Regions from separate parts of the Homo sapiens genome. Here all the other regions are linked to region 1. Evidence: promoter capture Hi-C in 16 types of primary human blood cells and fetal thymus (Javierre and others, 2016). All regions are on one chromosome and are shown on one strand. The core of a region is centred on a gene start or on the middle of the fragment in contact, and the rest is flanking DNA. Distances in the headings are between cores, read along the strand shown. Region 1 holds the start of ABCB5 (ATP binding cassette subfamily B member 5). Region 2 overlaps MACC1 (MET transcriptional regulator MACC1). Region 3 overlaps MACC1 (MET transcriptional regulator MACC1). Region 4 overlaps LOC101927769 (a long non-coding RNA gene).

Region 1 (7,232 bases), core at 1,346-3,845:
GGCAAATCCATAGAGAAAAAAGTAAGTTAGTAGTTGCTGGGTGGAGGAGAAATAGAGATGACAGCTAATGAGAGGGATACAGGGTTTCTTTTCAAGATGATAAAACCACTATAAATTGAATGTGGTGATGGCTGCTCAACTCTATGAATATACAAAAACTTTTGAATTGTACATCTTAAATGGGTACATTCTATGATATGTGAATTATATCTCAATAAAGCTGTTAGCAAAAAAGGGTAATCTTAAAGTTTCTAACCATTATTACAGAAGTTTTTATTTCTCTCTGCTTCTGTCAGTGTTTATTTAGGAGCTGTGATATTTTGTGGCTGTGTGCTTATAGTTGTTATATCTTCTTGGTGATTTGACTGTTTTATCACTATCTAATGTTCTTTGTTGTCTCTTATAAAAGGTTTTGACTTGAGGTGTAACTTGTCTGGATATTACTATAACCATTCCAGCTCTCTTTTGGTTAATATTTGCAGGATTATCTCTTTTTATCCTTTTGATTTTAACCTATTTGCCTTTAGATCTAAAATGATTCTCTTATTGACAGCATACAGTTAGATTATATATTTTTAATCCATTATAAAAATGCGATTTTTGGGTCTCACTCTAAAACTTCTGAATAGAATCTGCATTTTAACAAGATTGTCGAAGTGGTTTGTAATGCATATCAAATTTTGAGAAACATGACTATATAGTATCTAGCACAAAGCCTTGAGAAACAGAAGGCACTACTTATCTAGAGGAAATTTTATCTTCCTAAATCCAAGATTATAAAAATAAAGTTTAAAATACACCTTAGTGCTGACAACATATTGTTTTTATCTGCTGTTAATAGCACAGTTTTAAAGTATTGTCAAAGGACCTCTGGCATCAGAATCACCTGGAGTGCATGTTAAAGATATCAGACACCTACCTAGGCCTTGCCCCACATGTACTGAATGATAATCTAAAGAAATGCACTGGAAAAAAATCTACATTTTAAACAAGCTCATTAGATGATTTTTTAAAAAAATTTACTCATTCTATAGATATATACTGTGCCAGGTACTGTTTTAAGCACTGAACAGCCTAGACATCTTTGCTGTCATAGAGCTTAGACTCCATTACAGGGAGAGTCACAATTTTAAAAAAAGGCATACATAAATAAGGAAAATTAGAGAGTGGTCAGTTTTTGGTATATAATTAAAACAGGGTAATTTTATGAAGAGTAATGTGGTATTTATATACATCTGGTCAGAGAAAGCCCCTTGTAGAAGATAATGTTTAAGCTGCAATCTGAATTATAAAAGGAGGTTGCTATATAAAGATCAAAAAGACTATCCCAGGCAGAAGGAATACTATTTAGATAGTAGAGAAAAGTGCACTGAGACAAAGCGACACAAGGTCAAAGCAATTTGTGAGCCAGTTGGCAGGTCCTCACTGTATGGAAAGCTACAGGTTGACTATGATGGCTGCCCCCATGTTCCTCTCTGTTACCCAATGTTTCAAAAGGAAGATAAATTTAACTTGAAACTTGTCAAGTTTGAGATATTTGTGAGATAATCAGGTAGTAATATCCAGCACTAAGTAGATAACATGAGAGAAGAACTCTGAACATCTTAATTGCTCTACACAAAATCTATCAGTCAGCCAATTCTTACTTATTGACAGCTGTGTGGATGCTATCATGGCAAGTACTATGGAACATACAAGAAAATGTAAAAATAGACAGAATATTTTATTTATAAGGACTTTTGCCTTAAAAAATATTTCTAGGTTCATGTACCAAGATGGAAATCATAGGACAAAATACCCATGTGAGAAGAAATCATGAGATGCACTTAACGTTCAAGCATCCTTGGTAAGAATAATCTGACAAATAGCTAAGATATACTGGTTGGATGGAAAACATGGGATCTTTGGTTAGATGAAAGAAGATATGGCTGGGCGCAGTGGCTCATGCCTGTAATCCCAGCACTTTGGGAGGCCAAGGCGGCTGGATCATCTGAGGTCAGGAGTTCGAGACCAGCCTGTCCAACAAGGTGAAACCCCATCTCTACTAAAAATAAAAAAATTAGCTGGGCATGGTGCTGGGCACCTGCAATCCCAGCTACTCAGAAGGCTGAGCCAGGAAAATCTCTTGAACCCTGGAGGCGGAGGTTGCAGTGAGCCAACATCGTGCCACTGCACTCCAGCCTGGGTGACAGAGTGAGACCCTGTCACAGGGAAAGAAAGAAAGAAGATATGAATTGTATGGATGCTTTAAAATGACCAAAATAATAGTAGGATGATCATTTCTGACTATGAAAAAGTTTCATACACACACATTTTTGTTTCCATCTTTACCACAAACTATTCTTTCTAAGATGGAGAAGTGTTTTATATTCTTCACAAGCTTCAATTGTTTTCATAATCTCTAATACTTTTGCTTTGACTTACTTTAATTCCTTAGATGCTGTTTTGAGTGGGCCCCATCCAGTCAGTTGAAGTCCTTAAGAGAAAAGACTGAAGTCTTCTGAAGAGGATAGGATAAAGCTTTCAGATACAAGGTATCAATTTTTTGCCAGAATTTCCAGCCTTCTAGTCTGGCTTGTGGATTTTGGAAGTGCCAGTCACCACAATTACATGAGCGTGTTTTCTCTTTCTCTCTCTACATACACACACACACACACACACACACACACACACACACACGGCCTATTGATTCTATTTCTCTAGGGGAACCTAATATACCTGGCAAGACAGACGTTATGTGATGAATAGTACAAAGAGTGACTATTCTAGTATCTAAGAAGACTGAGGAAGAACATTGTGATCTAAAATGGTTTCGCCCACAGATGAGGATGGCCCTGAGGTTAGTTTCTGGAGGAAGGCTAAGGTTTCAGTAAGTAGAAAAATGTGGAGGAGGAACAAGGGCATAGTTTTAGGAATGCAAGGTGAATTATCTCATGGTAGAGAAATGAGAACGGTTTGGATAGGATGGACTGTTCATGCAGAAATGGAGAGAGAGATAAGGTACATACGATTGTAAAAGGCACTGAACCAATTTTTAGGACAACTTTTATAATTTTCTGGAATGAAAGAGACAAAGCCATTGGTATTTGGTACAATTAACCTGATTATTTGACATTACAGCCATGGATATACTGGAAGGACTTGGGGAAACACAAGATTTAAGTAGACTCATTAAAATCTAGTTTGATAGCAGTAAGTAAGACTATTTGAGAGGTATTTTTAAGGCGGTAGGTAGGTAAAGAGGACAAGGAAGAAGAAATAAAAAAAATATAAGTTCAGCGATCAAACTTTTAAAAGTTGTAACAAAAGAGTAGTAAAGATGGTAATAGAGAAGTTATGAGACAGAATTGGTTTTGGGGAAATGGTAACATTCAGTTTAAATATGCAAATTTGGGTTGATATTGGTGTCCAAGTGAAAATATCTGGCAAACAGATGTAAATGTGGCACTAATAATTAGGAAAATTGCCAACCTAGAGATAAACTTGCAATTGTCATATGCACAGAAGGAATAATTAATTTTGCTTTAAAAATCTCATGATGTCATCTAAATGCACAGAAGTGGTGTAATGTAGCTAAAAGTGTTACTTCTAGAGCAGAGCCATCCAACAGAACTTTCTGCAATAATTGAGATATTCTCCACACATCCAATATCCTAGCCGCTACACATATGTGGCTATTGAGCGCTTTTAATGTGCCTAGTGAGGGAGCTGAATTTTGAGTTTTATATAATTTTAATTAATTTATTTTATTTATTCAGCTTTAATATGTATAATTGACAAATACTATTGTCTATATTTAAGGTTTACAACATGATGATGTGATATACATATACATTGTGAAATGATTACTGCAATGAGCACATCCATCACTTCACATATTTACGTGTTTGTGTGTGTGCGTGTCTGGTGAGAACGCTTAAGATCTACTCTCTTAGCAAATTTCAAATATACAATACAGAATTATTAACTGTAGTCACCATCCTGTACCCATCTTATAACTGGAAGTTTGTACCCTTTGACCAACATCTCCCCATTTCCTCCACCTCCTAGTCTCTGGTAACCACCATGCTACTGTCTGCTTCTAGGAGTTTGACTTTTTTTGGATTTCACACATATCTCTGGCTTATTTCACACAACATAATGTCTTCCAGTTCCATCCACGTTGTCACAAATGACAAAGTTCCCTTCTTTTTTATGACTGAATAATATTGCTTTTCTTTATCGATTCATGTGTCAATGGACACTTTGGTTGTTTCCATATATTGGCTGGTGAGAATAATGCCGCAATGGACAGGGGAGTGCAGATACCTCTTTGAAATACTGATTTCATTTCCTTGGGGTATATACCTAGAAGTGAGATTGCTGGATCAGATGGCAATTCTGTTTTTAATTTTTTTAGGAAACTTGATGCTCTTTTCCATAATGGCAGTACCAATTGACATTCCCACCAAAAGTGCACAAGGTTCCCTTTTTCCATACCCCTGTTACCTCTTATCTTTTTTATAATAGCCATTCTAAAGCTAGAAGGTGATATCCCATTGTGTTTTTTATTTGTATTTCTCTGATGATTACTGATGTTGAGCACCTTTTCATGTACCTGTTGGCTGTTTGTATGTCTTATTTGGGAAAAAATATCTATTTGGGTCTTTGCCTACTTTTAAATGGGGTTATTTGTCTTTTTGTTATTGAGTTGTATGAGTTTCTTATATACTTTGGGTGTTAACGCATTATTCAAAATGTGGTTTGCAAATATTTTCTTCCATTGTGTAGATTGTCTTTTATTTTATTTTCTTGAAATGGAGTCTTGCTCTGTTGCCCAGGCAGAATGTCTCACTCTGTAGGGATGGGGTTTCACCATGTTGGCCAGGATGGTCTCGAGCTCCTGACCTCACGTAATCCGCCTGCCTCAGTCTCCCAAAGTACTGGAATTACAGGTGTGAGCCACCACGACTGGCCCTTTTTCATTTTGTTGCTTGTTTTCTTTGCTGTGCAGAGGTTTTAAGTTTGATGTAGTGCCACTTTTTTGCCTTTGTTGCCTGTGCTTTTGGTGTTATGTTCAAAATATCACTGCCAAGATCAATGTCAGGGAGGTTTTCTCTATGTTTTCTCCTAGGACCTTTATAGTTTTAGGTTTTACATTTAAGTCTTAATTCATTTTGAGTTAGTTTCTGTGAGTGGTGTGAAATTGGGGTCTAATTTCATTATTTTGCATGTGAATATCTGTTTTCTCAAAACCATGTATTGAAGAGATTATCTTTCCTCCACTGTGTATTTCTGGCATCTTGTTAAAGATCAGTTGATCATTTACATGTGGATTTATGTGTAGTTGTAGTTTGTTCATTGTAATTGTTGAATAATATTTCATCTTGTGAATATACCACCATTTAATTTTTCATTCTACTACTGTTGGTGGACATTTGGCTCATTTCTGGGCTTGGAGTATTAGGAAGAGTGCTATTATGAATACTATCATGCATGTTTTTTGGTAAACATATTATCTTTGTTGGATATATACAAAGGTGAAATTGCTAGGTCATAGGATATGTATGTGTTTAACTTTAGCTGAAGGAGCCAAATAGTTTGTCAAAGTGCTTGCACCCTCTGTGTGCTCACCAGCAGTGCATGAGAGGTCCACTTGCTCCATATTCTCAACAATGTTTGGCATAATGATTCTTTTCAATAGTCATTATGGTGGGTGCAGTGGTGTATGGTTTTGCTGTGTCCCCACCCAAATCTCATCTTGAATTGTAATCCCCATGTGTCAACGGAGGGACCTGTAATCCCAACATATCGAGGGAGGGAGGTGATGGGATCATGGGGGAGGTTCCCCCATGCTGTTCTCGTGATAGTGAGTCCTCATGAGAACTGATGGTTTTACAACTGTTTGGAAGTTCCTACTTCATCCTTCTCTCTCTCCTGCCACCCTGTGAGGGTGCCTGCTTCCCCTTCCACCATGATTGTAAGTTTCCTGAGGGTTCCCCAGCCAGGTAGAACTGTAAGTCAATTAAACCTCTTTCCTTTATAAATTACCCAGTCTCAGGTAGCTCTTTATAGCAGTGTGAAAATGTACTAACACAAGTGGTATTTACATTGAGGTTTTGTTGCTTTTCTTTGGTAATTTATAAAGCTAAGCGCTCTTTCATATATTTTTTATTGGCTACTTGGATATCTTTTTGTGCAGTGCCTGTTCAAGTCAGTCTTCTGCTCATTACTATATTGTGCTATTTGAAATTTTCTTATTGATTTGTAGGAGTATTTTAAGTGGACCCTATATGATTTCTTTGTTGGGAATATGAATTGCAAATGTTTTTCCAATTCTGTGGGGTACATTATTTTTCTCTTGATGTTTTTATCTTGATGAATGTATATTCTCCAACAATATAGTGCTATATGTTATTTTTTCCCTTACAGTTAGCCTTTTTTTTTTCCTGTTAAAGAAATCTTTGTTTATTCCAAGGTCACAAAGATGTTATCTTACATTTTCTTGTATAAGTTCACATTTGAGCATTCACATTTTGATCTAAAATCCATCTGAAATTAATTTTTGTGTGAGGTAGATACACTTTTTTCCCCAATAAGAATATTCAGTTGACCCAACACCTTTTATGACAGAGGTTCTTCTTTCTTAACTATCTCAATATGTCATCTTTGTTACAAATGATACATATGTGTGGGTCGGCTTTGTTCTATTGCTCTGTTTCTATGTCCTTGTCCTGTCTTCATTACTATAGCTTTGTAATAGGTCTTTCCTTCTGCTGTTTAAGTCCTACAGTTTTGTTCTTTCGGTTGCCTTGATTATGCTTGGTCTCTTTGTTTTCAATATAAATTTTAAGATGAAACACTCCTTTTCCACAAATGAATTACTTCTGGCATTTTAACTGATTTAAACTTGTAGATATGTTTAAAAAATTGATATATGTATAATATAGCATTTTTCAATCCATAAACGTAATGTATCTTTTCATTTATTTAGGTCTTCTGTAGTTTTTCTAAGTAATGCTTTATAGTTTTGACTATAGCTGTCTTACACATACATCATTAGATTTTCCCATAGGTATTTGATATTCTTTGATGTTAGTATATATGGTTTTTTGAAAAATTGTTTTCTGTTTGTGGTTGGCACTCAGAACTAATTGATTTCTATAATACAGAACATTTTAAAATTGATTTTTATGTTAACCTTGCATCTAGTAATTGGGTTACTGAATCTAATGGTTTGCTGTTTTTTTTTA
Region 2 (7,232 bases), core at 1,997-4,496, 470 kb after region 1:
ATAAGAAATTCACTGGCCTAAATTGGGTGCTCTTCACTTAGCCTTCTAGGGATGGTTACCACAAATGACAATACTTTTTCTATGGCTCCCTCATTGGCCCCCTTGCTTAACAATATAGATTATGCCATTTTTATCTTGTTTAATAAGGACACATATTCACCAAGGACACTAAAGTTTCACTTCCTTTCTTTTTTTTTTTTTTTTCTCCTTTGAGACAGTGTCTGGCTCTGTCACCCAGGCTGGAGTGCAATGGCACAATCTCAGCTCTCTGTAACCTCCACCTCCCAGGTTCAAGAGATTCTCCTGCCTCAGCCTCCCAAGTAGCTGGGATTACAGGCGCATGCCACCATACCTGCCTGATTTTTGTATTTTTAGTAGAGATGGGTGTTTCACCATGTTGGCCAGGCTGGTCTCGAACTCCTGACCTCAGGTGATCCACTCACCTCGGCCTCCCAAATTGCTGGCATTACAGGTGTGAGCCACCACTCTGGCCTCACTTCCTTTCTTCAATTACCTTTGCCCACTGGGCTCTACCTCAGCCACAGGCACCAATAGTCCTGTTGATAATAGTTTCTTATCTGACCTGCCAGAATGGGCCACTCTCCCAATGGAAGCCAGCGAAGTCAATGTTCCTAATGGTAATTTTTTTTCGTCTCGGAAATTACTCACCTGTAGAGATTCATAATTGGGAAGATGTATTTTAAGTCTATTTGTAGTCACCATTTAATCAATGCAGATCTAATACTCCTTTGTATCTTCTATTCACAACCTGTTCCTCATTTTCTGACTGGCCGCTGGAGAGTTCAAAGTACTTTGTTCCAAGTCTAGATTAAAGATAAGAAAGTTGTTGATTTTCAAGAAGTTTTAGTCATTTTCTATAAGTGAATGAATTCCACATGGAATTCTTTCCACTTATTTAGTATCTTATATCTGTGTCCTAGCCTTCAGTATTTAATTCATCCATATACTTAACGCTTATTCTGGGTCTATCAGTTCTGGACATTGGTTTAGGAGCCGTAAAAAACACACAATATGATTATTTTTTCCTTAAAAACCAGGTTTTACTTTGGCCTGGGAATTGGGATAAACTGTTAATATTTGAATTGTTATAATATTTCTTAAAAGTATAGGACTAGATGACAATGTTAATAGTTGTAACTTACCAAATGTTCATTGTCAGCTAGTCATTATGAGCATTTTCTTTACAGTATCTCTATTATTTCAATATACTTTGTAAGGAAAACATTATAGCCATCTGCTCTTTACATATATACAAACTGAAGGTGAATGTATTTGTGTAATTTATCCAGTTACATGGCTATTAAGGGCAAGTACTTAGATCTGAATTCACGTTGTCTTATATAAAGTCCTAACCACTGTATTATACTAATGATAAGCCCTTTCAAATTTAACTTACTTAAAAAATATCAAAGTGGTGAGGAGTAATTAGGAGACATGCTAGCTTTGAAGGATGGGTGGCCTTTGAGTAATTGGAGAGGAATAGAAGTAGACTTCAGTGCTTCTAAATATCAGTGAGCTCTAGGGACCACTGAGAAGATGTGGCCTGGAGGGGAGAGTTCACCTTACTAATTACTGGGTGATGTGGTCAGGTACATATGTTGGTATCAATGGAGGGGAGTCTTCAGTGACTACCAGAGCATAGAGGTTAAGATTCTTGGCTGGACTTCTGTTCCACCTCTACCATCTATCAGCCCTCAAGCCTTGGGCAAATTACTTTACTTTTCTGGGAATCTATTTTGTGTGTCTGTGAAGTAAGGAGAATAATACTATCTTACTCACTGGATGTTTAGAAGATCAAATGAGATAATAAATGTGTAATATTTGGGACAATGTTTTGCATATTGTAATCACTAAATACATATTATTTATTATTTTAATGAAGAGGAAGAGGAAAAGGTGAATTTGATAACTATATAACTTTGAGTAATTTTTGGAAAATAGAATAAAATACACTGTTTTTTTAGTAATGTGACTGAGAGTGCCTATAGGAAGAATGTAAGGAAAAAGTTAGCAGTTATTTCAAGGTTTCTCATCTGAGAAACTGGCAGAATAGCAATGCATGGAAAAAAATGAGATAAAGTCTTGGCTGATCAGCTTATTTCTTATGGGCTTAACAACATTTAATTTTCCTTGGAAATTATCTCTCGCAAAAGTTAAAAGAAATGTCCTTGGGCTGTATGGTTTTCTGGCTTACATGGCAACTTCTGGATTCTGCTTACAGGGATGTTGAATTATCAAGGTCTGTATCAGGGCCTGGTTCAGTTCTAGCCTTGGTACTTAATTCTTTTGTTTGCTGTTCTTTTGAAATGAGAAATATATTTATAATTTCTTAGAGAAGGGAAAAGTATTATATGGAAATTCACATACCAGTTGTAAAATGTATAGAATGATATCTCAAATCTCCATTGTTTGAACTAGAGATTTGGCACAGTGATGTTATTTAGATTACCATTGTCTACTTTGTACAATTTAGATTACCATGTCTACTTTGTACAATTCTATACTTGTTACAAACTTTAATTTCAAAAAGATACTCCATTTTGGGAGGAATGAGGTAGGAAAGAAAACAAAGATAGCACAGTGAAATTTCTGGGGTAACACATTGTATTCCTATGATCTTTGACTTAATTCTATATTATACACTGAAAATCAAATAGAAATAACATGCATATTAAGTTAAACATTATTAAGAAAATTCAAAATGGATTTAAAGACACTATTTAATTTTGACTTTAGGTTTTCTTTTTCAAGCTTTAGTACTAGGGAACATAAACAATAAGGAATTTCAGAAAACCAAAATCCAGCTATGTGTAAGACCAAAATCAGCATTTGTTAGAACTGCTTAATAATGAAATAAAGTTGTGGCAATACTTTAGTAAAATGGCCCTAGATTTATAGCAAGGTTACCTGGGTTCTTTTCCTGGATAGTTGACTGTGATTTTGTTTCTTAACTTTAAACTCAACTATAATTAGCATTAATTGAGCACTTGGTGTGTGCCAAAAACATTTACATCCATTCCTTTGTATACTTAGCAATTCTTTTATAGCATTGGGTACACCTTTTTTCTCATTTGCCAGAAGGGGAAAGCAAGGGCCTAAAGAAAGGTGATAGCTTACCTAAGATCCTGGAGCTACTAAACCAAGAGTCTAGATTTAAACCAAGATGTGTGCCGCTAAATCCAGAGCTCTTGACACTGTATTTTTTCATTTGTTTTAATGTTTACATTGAAAAATTAAATTGAAGGAGCCCAATTTCTTTAAACATTGGTGTCAGTTGTCTCCATGAATATATGTTTTTGGCAGGGGCATGGGTGGCAGTGATGATGAGGAGGCAATGAGGAATCCTCCCAACTAGGAATTGGTAAGATGGCTTAACCAGCAGGTTTTCCTATAATGTTAGACTATTTAAGCAGATGCACTAGCAAGGAATAGGTCCTCTGTCTTCCTCTGGCTCATGCTTAACCCCTGAAGTTCCAAGTGGTTATTCTCACCCAAATTTAGCTGGTTGTCCTCAAATAGACTTTTTCAATGGAATCTTGTGTCAAGTTTTAACCAAGCAGCATCTCCCTCGTGAGGACATAGGGGCCCCCAGATATGTTAGCCTCCCTTCTCTTCTGAAGACAACAGCAATCTTACCTTCAACAATATTTATGTACTTACTAATTATAGGTAATGTTAAATGTTAAGTGTTAAAGCTTACCTGAATATTGTAAATGATGTACTGAGGATAGAACACATGAAATAATCATTAAGAAGGCAACCTTGCCTTAATACTTCTTCAGCTAATGGTACTGAAAATGAAGTGTTGTTCCTGTAAGTTTATAGGAGAAGTAAGTGGATTACTAATCCTTTAATGTGACAAAATGTAATTATCCAAAAGTAGTTAAAACCAATTGCATTCTTTATGCTATTCATATTTTATAAGCTAAAAAAAGACATACAGTGCTATGCTGAAATCTGAATTTCTTCTACTCATGTGGCATTTCATTTTCTAGTGCATTTTCTAATGAGTCTTATTGGCTTCTGGGAATGAGCACTCTAAATTTGGAAAACTATGTATGTTTTGCCTTTATTCCTATTTCATTTCTTTTGGCATCCCACTTATTACTTTTTATTGCTCCATTACTTTTTATTTTGTCCTATAACACTGAAAAGATAACCTAAGACACACTTCTTCCACACAAAAGCTTGAACTTTGGAAAACTGCTCAACTTTGTATGTTAAATACTTACTCACGCTGCTGCCCTTTTTTATAAAAAGAAAAGCACATAGATGAAAATTAACAACTTTGTGCTTTTATCAGCCTCACGCTTCCTATTCAAGAATGAAACTGCAACATCATGAAGTTACCATTAAAAATCTAAGAATAGAGGCATAAGAATGCAGCCTATGTATTAAATATTTGTGATAGAAATGAGAAGGCTGAGATAATTTTTGTGGTTAAGAATAATTTAACAACTAAAAAACAAGCCCTCCTGAGAGGGCTTTCCTTTAGATTTTTCAAAACACAAGTGTAGAGTTTCTGCATATCTTTTCTAATCATAACATTGAGCAAGAGAGGAACAACTATTTTTAAAACACAGAATAGATACAAGACAACATAAATCTGGAAGAGATCTTGGCTGTCTGCAACTCCTTTCTAGCCTTCGGAGGATTAAATGTTAGTCAGTCCGGAAAGAAAATTATTTATTCTACGCATTTTATTCCTTCAAACATTTCCAGAAAAGATGACTTCATTTTCTTTGTAATTTATTAAAAAATTTAGAATTTTTTGTGACCTTACTGGGTAGATATTTTAGGGCAAATTTCATAGAGTTTATTGTTAATTAATGTACACAAATTACCTCTTATGTCTCTGCCTTGGATAAAATGTATTTACTGTTTAAGAAAACCAGAATGAAATGAGATAAAAAATGCAGAAAAAATAAAAGTACCTTTAGAACTTGTGTCCAAATGTTCATATATCTATTCCACAAAGGACAATTAAACAACTGATTAGCCTATTTACTGTATTGAAGAGACCTGGACGATTAATCAGGTTTTTTTAAGGCAAAGCTCAAATAGAGATTTACTTTTTTTTTTTTTTTTTCTTTTTGAGATCCAGGCTGGAGTGCAGTGGCATGATCTTGCCTCACTGCAACCTCTGCCACCTGGGTTCAAGCGATTCTCCTGCCTCAGCCTCCCAAGCAGCTGGGACTACAGGCGCGTGCCACCACGCCTCACTAATTTTTGTATTTTTAATAGATACAGGGCTTCACCATAATGGCCAGGCTGGTCTCGAACTCCTGACCTCATGATCCACCCACCTCAGCCTCCCAAAGAAGTGCTGGGATTACTTGCGTGAGCCACCACCCCCAGCCTAGAGATTTACTTATTAAGGGAAAACATAGTTCCCCCAATTTAATATTTTTTATCAGTGTATTAAGTACATAAGTCTTGACATATGCTTTTGTTCTCATTCCTTCTCGATTTCTCATGATACTTGCCCCTCTAATTTTGTGCCCTAACTCCATAATGATTTTAACATCCTTTTGTATTTATGTTTCTGCCAAAGGAAGTTAACCTTTCTTCTTGGGTGCTTTATATATGCTACCTCTTTAAGCCTCATTAACCTTAAGTTCTCCATATGGCAAAGCTAAGATTCAAATCCAAATCCCCTTGCCATCATAGAATATTACTTTAAAAATTTTTTTTCTTTTTAAAATACCTCTATTTTCTACTGCTGCTTGTTCTGGTAGGATATTACTTTTTAAATTTGTTTTTCTTTTAAAAATACCTCTATTTTCTACTGCTGCTTGTTCTGGTTCTGTCTCTCTTCCTTTGACACTCAAATTTCAGATGTGACCCATTTGTTTGGTGTCTTCCATTTCTTTGATACCTGTTTGTACCTGTCGTATGCCCCCGACTATTCTCTTGAAACTGCCTTCTCCAAGTTACCAAAGTCCTGCTAATTTCCAAAATCCTGGATTTGCCAAGTTTTTCTTTATATTCCCACATTGTTGATGTTACAGGTAGCAGTGGAGGTAACAGAAAAGGGAAGTCCTCAGTGTTACACTGGCATATGTTTACCAACCAACCCTGCAGAGGGAAAAAATCTAAACTTATAGCTTTTGTTAATGTTCTTAGTGTAAATATTCCGATCGTACATCATTTTAACCTACCATTGTGGTGTCACTGGAGTTGTGGAACATGGAGTTGGGAGGATATCCAGGGAGCTTGTGTGAGCTGGCTCCAGCAAGCCAATGCATGTCCTTTTTGGGATGTTATTATACTTCTTGGCTTTTGCAAGATGAAGCATGTGATTCACTTTCTTTTTCTTTGACTCCAGCTTCTCCCCATCCTTTTATTGCGTCTATTTCTCTCTTGTATCCACTAATAATTGACTTAGTTGAGAATTAAATTTTGCATCCCTTTTTTCTCTTCCTTGGTGTTTTCTTCTGCTCTCATGTGTTTTGCCATCCCTGTAGCACAAGTGATGCTAAACCCTTGTCTGTCCTCTCAAGGTCATCTCCTCATTCCAACTGTAATTTTTTATCAGATACCCTCCCTTTTGCTTGATATTCAGTAGGGCTGAAAATAGGCTCTTTAGCTTGCCCCTGCCAAAAAAATAAGTACTTTCTTCTCTATCCTATTAAGAAGTATAAATGCAAACTATATGCCAGATACATCATGAGGTATTTTGAACACAAAATTTGGGAATGATTATCCATATTTTATAGATTAAAAAAATTCCAAGCTGAAATAACTTGATTAGTTTATCAAATTAACCTATCAAATAGGCAACAGAACTCAGATGTAGACACAGGACTCTGCCACCCAAACCTATCTTTCTTTCCATTATAGCATCAGTGAATACAACAATCATTTTTTCTCACACTGATTTAAAATATGCAAGTAATTTTTGAGTTTTTCTGTAATTATCACATCCTATTTCATCCCCTGTGCCAGTGTTTGTGCAGGTGTCTATCTCCTTCCTACGCTATAAGCTTCTAAAAGCAAGAGTCATGCAATATTCATCATTTTCTTACTGTAACAAAATTTATTGTAGTGGAAGATAATAAACCTTGATTTGATAAGCAAAATAGTTAATGAACAATGATAATGTTGAATATTTTCATTGTATTTATGCTATAAAAGTGTTTCTCTATCATCTTTGTTGAGAGCTACCAATGATTTTGTACACAGAAGATGAATTTTTGCACCAAAGGAAT
Region 3 (7,232 bases), core at 2,743-5,242, 450 kb after region 1:
CTGTAAATTTTTCCTTTATCATAGTGAAATCCTATGTCTAGCACATAGTCCCGAGACATGTTTGTGCCAGGGTAAGGATGGGCATCTTCAGCTGCCATATATTTTATTATGTTTAATAATATGTTTTTAGAAAACAAAGCAAAACATGTATATTATCACCTCATAATTATGATTTGGTGGCTCTCAATTTATCTCCCAGAAACTTTTTATAAAAATAAATGAAGCCTGGGATCCATCTCGGATTTTTGGGATGATTTCTGGGCATCTGTATTTTTAAAAATAGCTCTGAAATTGATTTTGATGCAGAGGAATGGTTGAGAACCCCAATTTTATACTAAACTGTTTAGGGAAAATGATAAGGAGGTAGAAAGCAAGAACAGGACAAAACTCCTAAACAGCAGTCCAGGAAGACCCCAACCTGGCACCAGGTGGTGCTGTGGGGACAACTCTGAGGCTTTTTCCCGTCTCCCCAGCTGATCACAAGGAACCCACTAGCTTCCCCAGAGCAGCACAGGCTCTCAGCAAGGAGATAGGCTCCTGACCTTGAGTATTCCACCTGCATTAAATAAAGGGGAGATGGAGGAAAAAGGAGAGGAAGAGCTCCTTCTTGGAGAGGTTCACTGTCACTTTGGGCGGTTAAGTGATGGGGTTCAACTTTTAGGTCAATTGAAAGAATTAAAAATGACAGTGATGGACAATTCTGCCTATTCTATTCTGAATGGTTTCTTTTGTATTTTATTTTGTATTTTATTCTGTTTCCACTAGAATTTAACACCTGAAAGTAGAATAACAAAACATAATTAATTTAAACATGAAATTAAAGTCATTCCTATATAGCTCAAATATATATGTGTGTATATATGTGTGTATATATATGTGCGTATATATATTTATATATTTTATTTTCTCCCTCATGATGGTTTAAAATACTTTAAAAATCCATACAGATAGAAAAGAGATTTACATTGAATATTTTACATTCTTTATGTTGGACTACGTACTTATATACTAACATGTTCCTGTAACTGTGGTAACCAGCCATCCTGGTTTGCTCCGGACTGAGAGGTTTGGATTTTAAAACAGGGCAGTCCTGGGCAAACCCAGATCAATGGCAGCTCACCCTGCTTGTAACCCGTATGTTCATTTGGGCAGCTGTGTTTTCCTTTTATTCCTGCTGTTAAGTTGGACTCAATGCCTCTTATTTTACACTATAAATGTTTCCTGAATCAGTGAGTAACATGGATTTTTCTGAAGATTGTGTGGGAGAACTAGATATTAGGGTTGACAATGCATACCTCTCAGTATTTCCCTCAGAATATTCTCATTAGTTATGTCTTTTTATTTCGTATTTCCCTTCTAGGCTACAATCACTTGTCCCAATCCTCAGTCTCCTCAGTTGGTTTCCTTTCTTACCCAGGGCAGTTTTCCTCTCTCAGCTTTTTCCTCCAGACTTCTTGTAACTCACATCATCACTTGATACCGTGTTGAAATAAGTGAAATTTTGAAGATGTAATTGTCTCTGTGAGGCCGAGGTGGGCAGATCACCTGAGGTAGGGAGTTCGAGACCAGCTTGACCTATATGGTGAAACCCTGTCTCTACTAAAATTACAAAAATTAGCTAGGCGTGGTGGTGGGCATCTGTAATCCCAGCTACATGGGAGGCTGAGGCAGAAGAATTGCTTGAACCTGGGAGGTGGAGGTTGCAGCGAGCTGAGATCACACCACTGCACTCCAACCTGGGCGACAGAACGAGACTCCATCTCAAAAAAAAAAAAACAGATATAATTGTCTCTAAGAAAGAAAATAATCAGCCGGGCGTGGTGGCTCATGCCTGTAATCCCAGCACTTTGGGAGGCCGAGGCAGGCGGATCACAAGGTCAGGAGATCGAGACCATCCTGGCTAACACGGTGAAATTCCGTCTCTACTAAAAATATAAAAAAAAATTAGCTGGGCGTGGTGGCGGGCACGTGTAGTCCCAGCTACTCAGGAGGCTGAGGCAGGAAAATGGTGTGAACCTGGGAGGCGGAGCTTGCAGTGAGCCAAGATAGCGCCACTGCACTCCAGCCTGGGCGACAGAGCAAGACTCCACCTCAAAAAAAAAAAAAAGAAAATAAAATAATCTTCCAGTTTCTAGTAATCAGAAATCAGTGGAGCATTAATAATAACAAAAATACTTTTGTTCAGCTGAATCATATATATGTCTATATCAATATCCATCTTTCTCTATCAGTTGTCTATATTTCTGAATAGATATATGCACACATGTATGCGCATTAGTATTTTTCAAGTCACTGCTTTGACAAAGAGTTCATACTGTTGCACACCGTTCTGTTTACAAAAATAACAAATGGAAACAGTGTGATTCCCTGAAACATTAGAAACTAGATGTAATCAATTGTTGAGAATTTAAGGGAAATTCCTGCTGTATGAATTGGATGGTGTGGTGTAATGAGTCTCTCTTTAATCTTACCCATTCTACCAAATTTTATTCATAAGCTCTTTCTCATAGCAAACGTTAGTGCATAAACATTCTGTTTTCACTTAACAGTGACCAAAGATTCATGTTTATTCTCTTTCAAGTAGGTAGCCTTGTCAGATGATATGCAAATGATTCACATCAGTGTTTGAAGTTCAAACCAAGGAAAACTGTGAGTATACACAAAATGTCAGAGTGTTTTTCTCTTGGCAAAGAATGCTGGGAATCTTACGATTAATTCCATACAGTAACAACTCAGCAAGTGTTGGCTAAAAATACTTGCTTTTACTGCAAAAGTACTAACACAAATCTAATTTTAAACGATACAATAATTTTTACATTTTCCCCTTCAGAGAGGTGAAAAGTATTGTCAAGTTGAATAATCTGTTAAGCTAAAATGACAAACTTTCACAGTGTTTATTCTGTTTCCTCTTTTCCAATATTCTTTACATATCTTTGTCAGTAACCACTCATTACATTGTCTAAGACCAACGGAATTGGCACAGAAGTGAAAAACAGAGAAGAATTATCATTTTAAGCAGCAACTGATGTTCATTGGGGATTTATGTTATTTCAATATTTACAACAATTTTTTAAAAAAGCTTTATTGAGATATATTTCACGTATCATTGTAACCACTTTTTGAAGACAATATTTTACCCTCATTTTGTAGATGAGGAAATGGTGCTCAGACCAGTGAATTCATTTCTAAGCATTGGTCTGAAGTTACGTCTGTCTATTTTCAAAGACTGCGTTCTTTCTATTGCACTCCAGTGCCTCTGCTGTGATGAGTCCAGTCACTCTTTTGGCAGGAATCATGGCACTGGTAAAATTTTCTATGAAGGGTGAAGAATAGGATACAGGGTCCCAAGACACAACTTGTAAGCTATCAGAGATTGGAGTCTCAAGACATCTGATTGAGAGGAGAAGATTCTTGAATGGGCCCAGTTGGCAAAGTTATTTCTATATGCACTGGAATAACCAGGAGGGAGAGACCAGAGGAAAAGCAAGGGGTCCTCTTGTGCCACTTTTTATACAGTATTTCATTTGATCCTTATGAACAGCATGTGGGGTTATTATATGTTGATAGTAATACTAATTATTACCTATTTTAGTTTAGTTCTTTACAGATGATAAGTAGAGTTCCAGAAATGTTCAGTATCTTTCCAAGTTTATACTAGAAGGACTGTAACCAGAGAATTGTAACTCCAAAGCCTATATTCTTTCTACTTTACAAAAATGCATTTACATAAAAGAAAGGAAAGACATTGCTGACTGATGACAACCAGTGAGGTCTCCTGATATACTGTCAAGTGTTCTAGGAAGCAGTGGAGCTTTGCAGAGAAAACAAATACAGAATTTGGCTCAGTTTGCTAGAAAAGACCATGCAAGTGAGGACCCTACAGTTACAGCTTTATTAGCCACACTATAAACCCACGTCTTGTCCACCCCTTCTGAATTGGGGGTTGATCTTTATACCTTTTGAAAAGTACAACCCAGAACACGTTTTTTGCACTGAAGGGTACAGGAAAGAAAAATGACTGCAGGTCCATAACTACACAAAGTCATATCCAACTACTCTTGCAATAATTAAACTTGTCCAATCCCAGGGACAAGATTTGTAGCTAATTTATTTCTCAGAGTTTGCTTGAAACATCTATTGCTTAAAGTTAAACCTGAGAGACATATCACTGGGAATATTTTATGGCAACAGTGGGGATTAGGTAAAAGAAGTCATTAAATGTTTTTCACAATGAAAGTACTACAGCTTTGCTCTGTGGCCTTGAAAGTTGGAAATGTATGCTCTTGTGTGGGAGCAGTAACAAAACTGTTTCTGAGGAAAACTGCAGTCCCTATCATGGCACAGCATGCAGAAGTAGAATGATCTTCTGCTCAGGCTACATTTTAGCTACTCATCTCAATTGTCATCTCAAATTTACTCATCTCAATTTTCACAAGAGAACGTGACTCCTATCTTTAACTTAGTGAATTGTTTGGGTCTTCAAAAGAAAAAGCTGCTCTGGATCTTAGGCCTAGAATGTCTCAGTCAGCTCTGACTTGAAAAGTGGAAAGGGAAACTCTGTTGAGAGGAACCAAGCATAGTGGGCTTTACTGGACTAGGTCCTGTCCTTTTGGGATTGTAACCTGACATGTGTGCTTATCTTAGAATAGGGAGGCAGATAGCTGTCTAGCTGGGCCCACTCTTCTCCACCTGACTTGACAGAATTGCCTTTGGGTGAGATGACATCAACACACATTAAGAAAGAGCTCCATTAAAGAGATTTACTGTTGAACATACTGTAAAAGGTGGGACCGAGGATACTGTCCCCAGTAGTTACATGCTCCTCTTCACCCCTCTTTATTCCAGGTATTGCTGGTGCTGCTGTTAAGTGGCTTCTTTGTGTTCTATGATCACTGTGAAGCTTGTAACTAATCATGTTTACCTTATTTTGGTCACTTTCAGAAAGTGGAGAGCCAAATGTGTGGACTACTGCTAATAGGTATACTGGAATTTACAGCATGATGTTTGTGAAGTTGCTTTTATTTGAAGTTGTCCTACCAACTTCCTGCAAATGTCACCCTTATTTATTCACTTATTTTGTTTTTAAATTTTTTTTTTTTTACTGAAGAATAATATACACTTACTTGTTGTTTAAACTCATTGTGTTATTTGACTATTTGTAAATTTCTCAACATATTTTTAAGCCAAGGAAGTGCATGTGTGTTGTGGGTATGTTCATGCACACACACGTGTAAAATGAACATACTGTAGGGAATTCAAATAAAAAAGACAAATAACTATCAACCTCTCTGCAGCTTGGTTCATCATCTGTAAGATGAGCATTCTTCATCCAAAATAATGCTTTTCTCCTTTCTTCATGGCCCCTTGTAATTTTAGTCATTTCTCTGGGTCTGAAGAGTAAAGGTTGCCAACTCTGTGAACAAGGACCAGCTACATAATTTGCAGCACCAGTGAAAAATGAAAATATGGGACCTCTTGTTCAAAACATATTAGGTATTTCAAGATGGCAGTGGCAGAGCATTACACCAAGCATGGGGCCTATCCAAGAGTGGGGCTCTGTGTTATTGCACAGGTCACATGCCCATGATGCAGGTCCTGCTGTGAACTTGGAGATCTTCCGGGGTCAACACTGTGGCTTGATACTACTCTCCAGCAACAGGGTCAGGGTGTAGTCTCAAATTTCGCTTCCTCTGGAAGAGAAGTTTTAACCTATAGGTAGAAAGTGTTGTGTAGAGTTCAAAAATGTGTTTGCTAGTATCTAGTATCCTTAAGTTCAAAGACTGGTTTGCTACTTAGTAGCTTTATAATCTTGGGCATATAATGTCCCTAAGACTTTATTTCCCTACCTTTAAAATGAGGATAATGGAGGCCAGGCATAGTGGCTCATGCCTGTAATCCTAGCACTTTGGGAGGCCAAGGCAGGCAGATTGCCTGAGCTCAGGAGTTCGAGACCAGCCTGGGCAACATGGTGAAACCCCATCTCTACTAAAATACAAAAAATTAGCTGGGCGTGGTGGCATGCACCTGTAGTCCTGGCTACTCAGGAGGCTGAGGTAGGAGAATTGCTTGAACCCGGGAGGTGGAGGTTGCAGTGAGCTGAGATCACACCACTGCACTCCAGCCTGGGCGACAGAGCAAAATTCCATCTCCATTGAAAAAATAATAATAAATTAAAAAAAAAATAAGGATGATGGTAGAGCCAACTTTCTAGAATTGTTGCAAGTAAACAAGAAAAGCCATGCATGATACCAGAAGTGTGGCAAGCTCCAAATAAATAATGAATAATAGCTCTTATGATTATCTTTTACCTTTTTTATTTTTTACAGGCCCAAGATATTCCTTTTGTGTATCTGTTCAGGGAGTCCTTTATACCTTTTCTTCCAGATCTAGATTTCTGGATATGTTCCTTGACTACATCACTAAGCTGCACTTCAAACAGTTTCTGACCTACTGTTTTTATATCCCTGATTTAGTCTCACTAATATGATGTTATGCTGCACAATTATTATGATTTTCCTGAACTTCAGTTCTGCCAGTGATGGAAGGATAATAAGATAGAAAGAAGTGATAGACATCTTGACCTGGTGATATTAACAAGATGACGTATTGATGAAATGTTTTGAGTTCCCAGGGTTGGAGGTATCATAGAAATTATTATGGATTTCTAATACCGCTTAATGCACTGGGAGGCCTGCTCCCTTCCCTGGAGAATCTTCTGAAACTCTTTGCCTTGGGGAAAAGTAACTGCTGACATTTGCCCTGTCAGGTCTTTTAAATATTTGGTCAGAATCATCAGCTGCAACACTTGAAGTATTTAATAACTGGGAGAAAGTATGCTTGTGTATGGTGTATACTATTAAAAATTACCAATCAGAGAGTGCCACTATTCCATCAGAAGTTGCCCTAGGGTAAGATCCAGTAAGGCCACTCACAGCATGGTAATGTCCAGTAAAATCATACCAGGTGTGTATCATCAGCTGATTATGATTCCTTTGTGGGCCTTTTTAAAAAAATACTGGTTGCATTTACAAGTAATACAATGTTACTTGGGCAGGTTTGGCATTTGGCAGGTGAAGGAAAAGTCTACTAGTCCAACAGTTGCTCTCCTGTCACCTATAAGAGTTATAGCCTACATGGACATGTTTTTATTATCACATAGATCAAGAGTTAAATACAGTACAAATTCATGGAAATCATCGAGGTTTCAGGTATTCAAGCACTAACTGAAAAAT
Region 4 (7,232 bases), core at 1,090-3,589, 300 kb after region 1:
TTTAATTCCTGGTTGAGAACCTTCAACCTTCATGATGATGAAGACATTCGTGAAAACCGAGTACCTCATTGCTGGGGACCAGAGCTAGGTCAGAGTCTCTCAACCTTGGCCCCCATTTAGGCTTTGATGGTTCTTTGTTGCAGGGGAGGGGTCGTGCTGTGGACGGTGGGATGTTTAGCCACACCTCTAGCTTCTAACCATTTAGATACCAGTTGTACCCTTCCCCCCAGTTGTGACAACCATTAAATGTCTCCAGACATTGCCAAATGTTCTGTGGGAAGCAAAATCTCTCCTGATTGAGAACTGCAGACTTAGCCAATTAACTAAAGCAGGACCCAGTAAGTCAGTCTGGGCTGGGGGTGGATCTGGCTGGATAGAATATGAAATCCTTAAATGCAAACTGGAATGCATGAAGGTTTACGTGGGGCTTTACATTTTATCTGAAGAAGATGTGGAAGCATTTGGAATTTGTTCTGTTATTTATTGCTATGTAACGAACCACTTTAAAATTTAGTGGCTTAGAACAGTGACAACATAAATTGTATTCACAAATCTGAAATTTGGCCAGGGTTGGGTGAAAGAGCTTGTCTTTTGTCTACTGGGGTGGCCCAAAAGCTGGGGGCTAGAATTATCTAAAGTCTCACTAACATAGTGGTTAAAGGCTGGCTGTCAATGGAGATTTCAACTGGATCTATGACTGAAAGACCTACATGTGGCCTTTTCATGTGGCTGCTTGGCTTTCTCACAGCATAGTGGCTGGTTTCCTAGGGCCAGCATCCCAAGGGAGCCAGGAGGAAGCTGTATTGCATTTTATGAATTGGCCTTAGAAGTCACATAGTGTCACTTCTACTGTAGTCAAAAGTTCACCCGGGTCCAAGAAGAGGTAACGTAAATCCCATCATTTGGTGGAGACATGTCAATGTCACCTTATAGGAAGAGCATATAGGATGGTATGTACTGGTGCTGTCATCTTTGGAAAATACAATCTACCACAAAGTTGAAAAAGCAGATCACACAATTGCTTACCTAGGGTCTACAACAGTGCTATCCAGGATTGCTCAAAGGAACACCTGTGTCAATCAGCTGGGGTATATTCATTTGAAATGCCAATTTCTGGACCTTTCTTTCAAGGATTTTCATTTGGCAAGTCAGCCGTGGACATCTGGTGTTTGGTTTTTCAACAAGCCCTCAAAATAATTTTTATTCATCTTCAGAATGTTTTTTCTTTATACTGATGCTTTAATCATTTACACATTTTCAGTACACATTTCCACATTTTCTTCCAGGAAACAAGGCGATGATACAGAGATAGCTTTGAGTAATGCAGCTGTTTTGAAGAGCTACTTCAAATATTGCCTTTGGATTTGTAAAATGCACATATTACTTGTCAAAAGACACTTTGAAAGTAGTGTTGCTGATTGGGTTTCTGTGGACATTTGATCTGTTTTTGTTTCCATGCCATGTCAAAATGAAAAAAGAAAAGAGATAATATTATAGTCTGAGTCAAGAAATTTGAAATTATTTCTTGGGTCAAATTTTATATGCTTTTATGAGACACATAAATTCTACTTTTTGGGTCAAATTTTACCATAAAATGCTTTTATGTTACATTTGAAAACTATACTTTAGGCATCAAATGAAAAGTCAACATTTATAATTATGTAGTTGAAGTTGTATCACAAGGAAGGATTCTTTATAGAAACTTAAAAATGATAATGTATATATTAATGTGGATTCAGTTTTCAAGGGGCATTATGAAACTGTAGGAAATAACATGCTAATGTAGGGAGATTTCCTTGACTTACATGTTGCTGATTAAGCAGCTTCAATGGCCTAAACTATACTTGAGAAAGCAGAGTGTAAAAAGGCCTCTGTGCAATCCAAATAGAATGCAAAAATTCATACCCTTTACTTAGAGTCTTTTTCTATAAACTTACATGAATTTCTGATAGCAGGGTTCCCAGCTTACAGCCAAGGTAAAGCAGTGTGTTAGAATGAGTCAGAAGTTGATAACGACAGTCAGGCACCATAAGGACTATGGGAAACTGAGGCAACAAAATAAAAATGTAATGATTTCACAGCAAGGTAGTTTTCAGTTTTTCAGAGTAGGGGAAACTCATTTTTGCCTCTCACTATTTTTAGCCATACTACATACTACAGAGGTATGTTTCATATACGTTTCTTCACAATATGTTTGAGTTTTTGAGAAGCTTAACTATTTTGAATATATTCTGTTTGAAAGATCAAGGAAATATTGAACAATTTTAGAAAATAATTATTTCAAAGTGGTTAAAGTAAAATAAGCTCTTTTGCTTTTAATAGATACACTTCCATTATTTATAAAATTAGTTTTGTGGACTATTTCATTTGCAGAAGATACTATATAATAAGTGTTTCTCGATGTACAAATTGGTCATTCTATTAAGATATTTTCTTTAAAACTTAAAAAAACTGAATTAAAAGCTTGGGTGTGATTTAAAATCTTATTTGGAAAACTATGTCAGCTTTTCAAAGTTATGTCAGCAGATGCTAACAAGCTGGGAAGGAACAGCAGAACCACAGGGTCATCTGATCCACCAAGGCCTCACTCCAAAATGCATCACAAATGTGATCACTTGTTTTTGCCTCCACTGCTACCACCTTGTCCATGTCACCATCACCATCATCTCTCCCATCTGTATTTCTGTGATAGACTTCTATCTCCCTTTTCTCTTGGCTGCCTCTAATTCCTTCTTCATGCAGCCAACAGATCAATTTACTTCCTTTTTTAACCTGCTATCATGGCTTTCCATTCTCTTTCAAATAAAACCCCAAATCCTTACCATAGCTTTCAAGGCCTTGCATGATTTGGTTTCTGCTTACTTCTCTAATCCCATCCATGACACTCCCCTTGGCTCACTCTGCTTTAGTTCCCTTGGCCCTCTGTTAGTATTTGTCCTTTGCGTACACAATTTCCTCCACCTCTTCCTCTCTATTCTTGGCAGAGCCGGCTGTTTATTCTTCAGGTCCCAGTTTAAAAACTGTCTCCTAGGAGAGGCCTTTCTTGACTTACCTACCTATTGTTGGTCTGTGTCTCCCCAGAATTATTCCCTATAATGGTATGGTATTCAGTTCCTTTGTAGCCAGTATCTTTATATGTTTTACCTATTTTTTTGTTCATTTTCTGTTGCCTTCACAAGATCGATGAAGGGAAAGACCAGTCTGCTTTACTGAACACTGATAATGATGGGTGCCTGGCACATAGTAGGTGCCTAGTAAATATTTTTTGAATTAATAAAATCATGAATGGCGTTCTATAGATAAATCAAGGATAAGTACATGGACTATATATTGGAAAGTGCATGTGCTAATGCAACTTGTCTATATGTTTAACAAGAATTTGAGTGATTCATAGATGCTCTATCCATATGAGCTTTGAAATGAGAAGTTTGTAGAGTTCATAACTAATTTTCCCTATGATATCATAAATCCATTCTCCAAGGTTGACTTTGTCAGAGTCCAAGTAAGGCGTTGAAGATATTTAGCTTGATTCAATCAAGTGCTTTTTAGGAGGAGAATAAAGGGAGTGATAATAAGATACGGAGCAAGAATCATTAATTATAGTATCTCATTTACTCTCAAGCGTAATGAAGAAGTTATATCTGTTAATGTTCTTGATGGAATTTGAGGAGTTTTCTATTACATTACACTCAACAGTGGTTCAGTAAATGTGAGTTTAGTTAAATTTCTTTCATTACGGGCCTTAGGTGTGGGGGGTGATACATAATAAGAACACACTATTTCTTAAACGCATAAAAATTTTCTGACCATTTAAAAGAACCTTGTTTAAACTGGTTTTCTTTGTGTGTGTTGTGTTGAATGAATTGAAAAGTAGATATAATTATATATGCTGTTAATTTAACTACATAAAGGTGAAAAAACAAACTTGAAAAAGTCTTTTTACCCTGTACTTATGCAGAAACATGTGATGACAAGACAACAATTTTATTATAAAAGGAATGCATAGTAGGTCTCATGTAAAATAAAACAAGAAATAAACCTTTAGGTGGCGGCCAAGAGCTATCATTATGAATTCCTTAGCCTGTTTTTATGAGAATTTATGCTCTTGTTTGAAAGTTGTCATGTAAAATGGGCTATTTAAACCACAATAATTCAGTGCAAAGCAAACATAAGGACAAAATTAGGCCTAAGAAGGAACTAGATTTGAATGTTAATATCATCAAATAATTAATCAAATTTTAATTTTGATTTGATTTGACAGTTGGTGTCTTGATTATGATTAGTAGTTAGAGACCCAGTTCTGGGAAGATAATGGTATTGATATGGAGTTACAGGATTAATTATTCTTAGCACTTAAGTAATTGTTTTAATCTTCACATAAATCATCTTTAAACAAAATGGTAGCTTTTTAAGAACTCAAAGAGTGTTATAAAGATGTCAAAACTGTCCAGATGCTTATTGTACAATTGAAAGCTCCATTCAAAGTTGACACAGGCCCCAGAAGAAAGGTCAGTTATCTAACTCACTTTTGCAACATCTGGCAGAAACTATGACTTGTTGGAGTACCAGTGTGTTCTTCTTCTCCTTTTTTACTGCTCTCCGAAATGAAAGTTTATGATTGTATCTGCCATGTGCCCCTTTCAGTTCTAGAAAAAAAGAAAAGGATAAAATGTTTTTTAAAAGGCATTATGATTTTGTGATGACATGCACTCGTTTCAACTCCTTGTTTGTTCTTTTAATCAGTATGCATTAATCTACTCAAAAAGTTTTAGACATCACTATTAGATATTGTTTTAGAGTAATATTTATGTAAAAATTTTCTCATTAACCATTAATTCTGTTTGCATTTAGATTCATGATACACTTTTTGATAAGGCTTTTTGGCAATATAGACTACATTTGGTAGTTGCTTCTAATTAGTCAGGACTTTTTGATGAAGTGTTTCTAGCTCAATTCTTGTCACCTTAAGTAGTACACATTTAGCAATGGCTGTATACACACCCAGCATCATAGAGAAGCGAAAACAAAGTAAACGACAACCTCAGTACACAAGGAGTTGACAATCTCTCTAGATGCAGCAAGAGAACAGGAACAAATTAAAATAATTCATTAAAAACCACACATTGGTGTTGAGTAATAAAAAAGAAGAAAAGAGAAAGTGTGGGTTGATAGTAATAAAGAAAACCTCCATAGAGAAGATGAATAAACTAGTGAAGTTTCCCAATACACTAATGGGAAAGTAAAGATTGTAATTCTTAAGAAACTCTAGTTCCGTTATTTAATGTCAATATTCCAAAATTATACTTTCACAAAATAGATGCCAGAGTAGCATGAAACAGCTCCTTTTCTAAATATTTTCCACTACATTAATCAATGAAGATGGTGACATCCTTTCTCAAAAAAAAGCCTACTTAGCATGTTGCTGGATTACATAGCAAGCTGCCCACAGAATTATCCAGAAATTATTTCTGTCCTCTAGTAATTTACAATACAAAATTGTCTAGGAAGAAAATTAAGCTAAAAACTTAGAAGGTTGTATCTACGGAATTATGTGATAGAAATGTAATATTTTCTATGTCGCCTTGAATGGTTTTAAAGCGATATTCCCAAGGCCAGGGATCAGGAGAGCCATCTCTAATCTTGACTCTTAGGGTATATATATGGTGATAAAATTGTGGTAAGGAGTCATGATTTCTGTGGGGGCATTTTCCTTCTCTATGAAACCAAAGAGGAGAACCAGAAGATCTCTAAGTGTCCCCTCAACCCTAAAATGTTACATTTTATACATTTACAGAGTAAAGCAATACTTCATTCGACATTATCAAAGCAGAAATTTTTTTTCCATCTGATGAGCAAACTCATGGCATAGTTTCAGTGGGAATTGCAAAATGAATCCCACTATATATGAAGCCCCACACATAGGTTGAGAAGGGCTCCCTGGCAGTGCTCAACCTACATGATTGTGTGTGTTGGCTCTATAATCATAGCAATAAAAAAAAGAAGACACAGATAGTTTCTCTCAACTAAAATTTTGTATAATAGTGGTTAGTTTTTAAGTCAACTACACAGTCCCCCAGAAAACCTGGAGTCTTTAATCAAGGTAAAAACTTTTAAATGCAAAATCAGTAACCTAAGAAAAACTCAAAGAACTGATTTTCTTGTAGGTAAAATTTACCAAATCTGTTAAGTGCTATGAAACCAGTATATATTATGGTGTGTCAGTGTTGTTTTCATAAACTTACAAGACCTAAAACTTACAAACAATTCTAAAATAGTAGGTGAGTGTGTCTTCTTAGTACTTAATAAATGTAATATGAATTAAAATTTAACTTCAAATATGCCAAAAGCGTAAAGAGTCAGCCACTATGCAAAAGGACTTAGTATACATGTATATAGCCATGAAGAATTCAGATATTAGAATTTATATCTCTTTAGTTCAAAGCAATGCATTTCAATCTTAGTGGGCCATTTACTTTCACGTGCAATATACTATTGCACACTTTTGAAAATGAGATGAAAGTCAATAAAAGAAAGATGAACATCCAATTCCCAAAACTTAAAAAAAAATCAATTCAAAGTGTATGCCTATTTGATGATAGGAGGTTAGAGAAAACCTCCGTATTGTGAAAGCTTTCATTATTTGATTTTTCGTATGTAATAAGCAGTATAAAATGATGGACATGCCTCCTGTCTCCAATACCACACAAAAGTAAGTAAGAGAAAAAACCTTTCTGTTCCATCTCCCTACAATAATTGCTTCAGAAACCACAGTTAATCTTGGGATACACCATTATTCTGCTGCTTGCTAGTGGACCATACAATGTGAGAAAGTTATTTTTATCTTGAGTGGCAACAATTCAGCAGGATAGACTTGCCAATTTGAGTCCCACTCTTCACTATTTCATTGGGGTGAATGATGTCTGATGTAGACAAGTATAGAAGTTGGCAGATCTCATTGATTTTATTCCCTGTGAATCTACAAATGGGACAGATATTTATTTATTTATTTATTTATTTATTTTTAAAGGCAGTCTATTTAGAATGCTGTTTTCTAAGGCAACTTTTTTTCACATTTTACTATATTAAAGAAATACTCAAAATCGCTTTAATCATAATCCTTTGCACGAAGTCAGTGGGACTGGGATTTAAACAACTATTGAAAAATAATACACAGAAGGAGTGAGAAAAGAATGTCATCCAGCAACAATACATTTTTTTTTTTAAGTTGGAGC

What was found. Contacts are between HindIII fragments. The CHiCAGO score rates a contact against its expected background, and 5 or more counts as called.
Region 2: a contact is called between a fragment that was not itself captured here and the fragment with the promoter of ABCB5 in region 1, in 1 of 17 cell types (monocytes). The highest score is 5.6, in monocytes.
Region 3: a fragment that was not itself captured here is called in contact with the fragment with the promoter of ABCB5 in region 1 in 3 of 17 cell types (M0 macrophages, M1 macrophages and megakaryocytes); the score reaches 6.1 in M0 macrophages.
Region 4: a fragment that was not itself captured here is called in contact with the fragment with the promoter of ABCB5 in region 1 in 4 of 17 cell types (M2 macrophages, M1 macrophages, total B cells and 1 more); the score reaches 8.7 in M2 macrophages.

What each region holds. Positions count from the first base shown.
Region 1 is chr7:20,611,030-20,618,261 of GRCh38, reverse strand. It overlaps ABCB5 (ATP binding cassette subfamily B member 5), which reads right to left and starts at 2,595. Exons shown (of 28, transcript NM_001163941.2): 1 at 2,425-2,595. The HindIII fragment of the contact is 15,833 bases long and covers 2,523-7,232 here.
Region 2 is chr7:20,144,027-20,151,258 of GRCh38, reverse strand. All of the region lies in intron 6 of MACC1 (MET transcriptional regulator MACC1), which reads left to right. It overlaps MACC1-AS1 (MACC1 antisense RNA 1), which reads right to left. Exons shown (of 4, transcript NR_046756.1): 2 at 3,722-3,832; 3 at 670-824. Among named protein-coding and RNA genes, the nearest start is that of MACC1-AS1, 5.7 kb to the right of the region's middle. The HindIII fragment of the contact is 944 bases long and covers 2,775-3,718 here.
Region 3 is chr7:20,166,131-20,173,362 of GRCh38, reverse strand. It overlaps MACC1 (MET transcriptional regulator MACC1), which reads left to right. Exons shown (of 7, transcript NM_182762.4): 2 at 2,585-2,649. Among named protein-coding and RNA genes, the nearest start is that of MACC1-AS1, 28 kb to the right of the region's middle. The HindIII fragment of the contact is 1,821 bases long and covers 3,082-4,902 here.
Region 4 is chr7:20,308,449-20,315,680 of GRCh38, reverse strand. It overlaps LOC101927769 (a long non-coding RNA gene), which reads right to left. Exons shown (of 5, transcript NR_110117.1): 5 at 3,969-4,646. Among named protein-coding and RNA genes, the nearest start is that of ITGB8, 19 kb to the left of the region's middle. The HindIII fragment of the contact is 253 bases long and covers 2,213-2,465 here.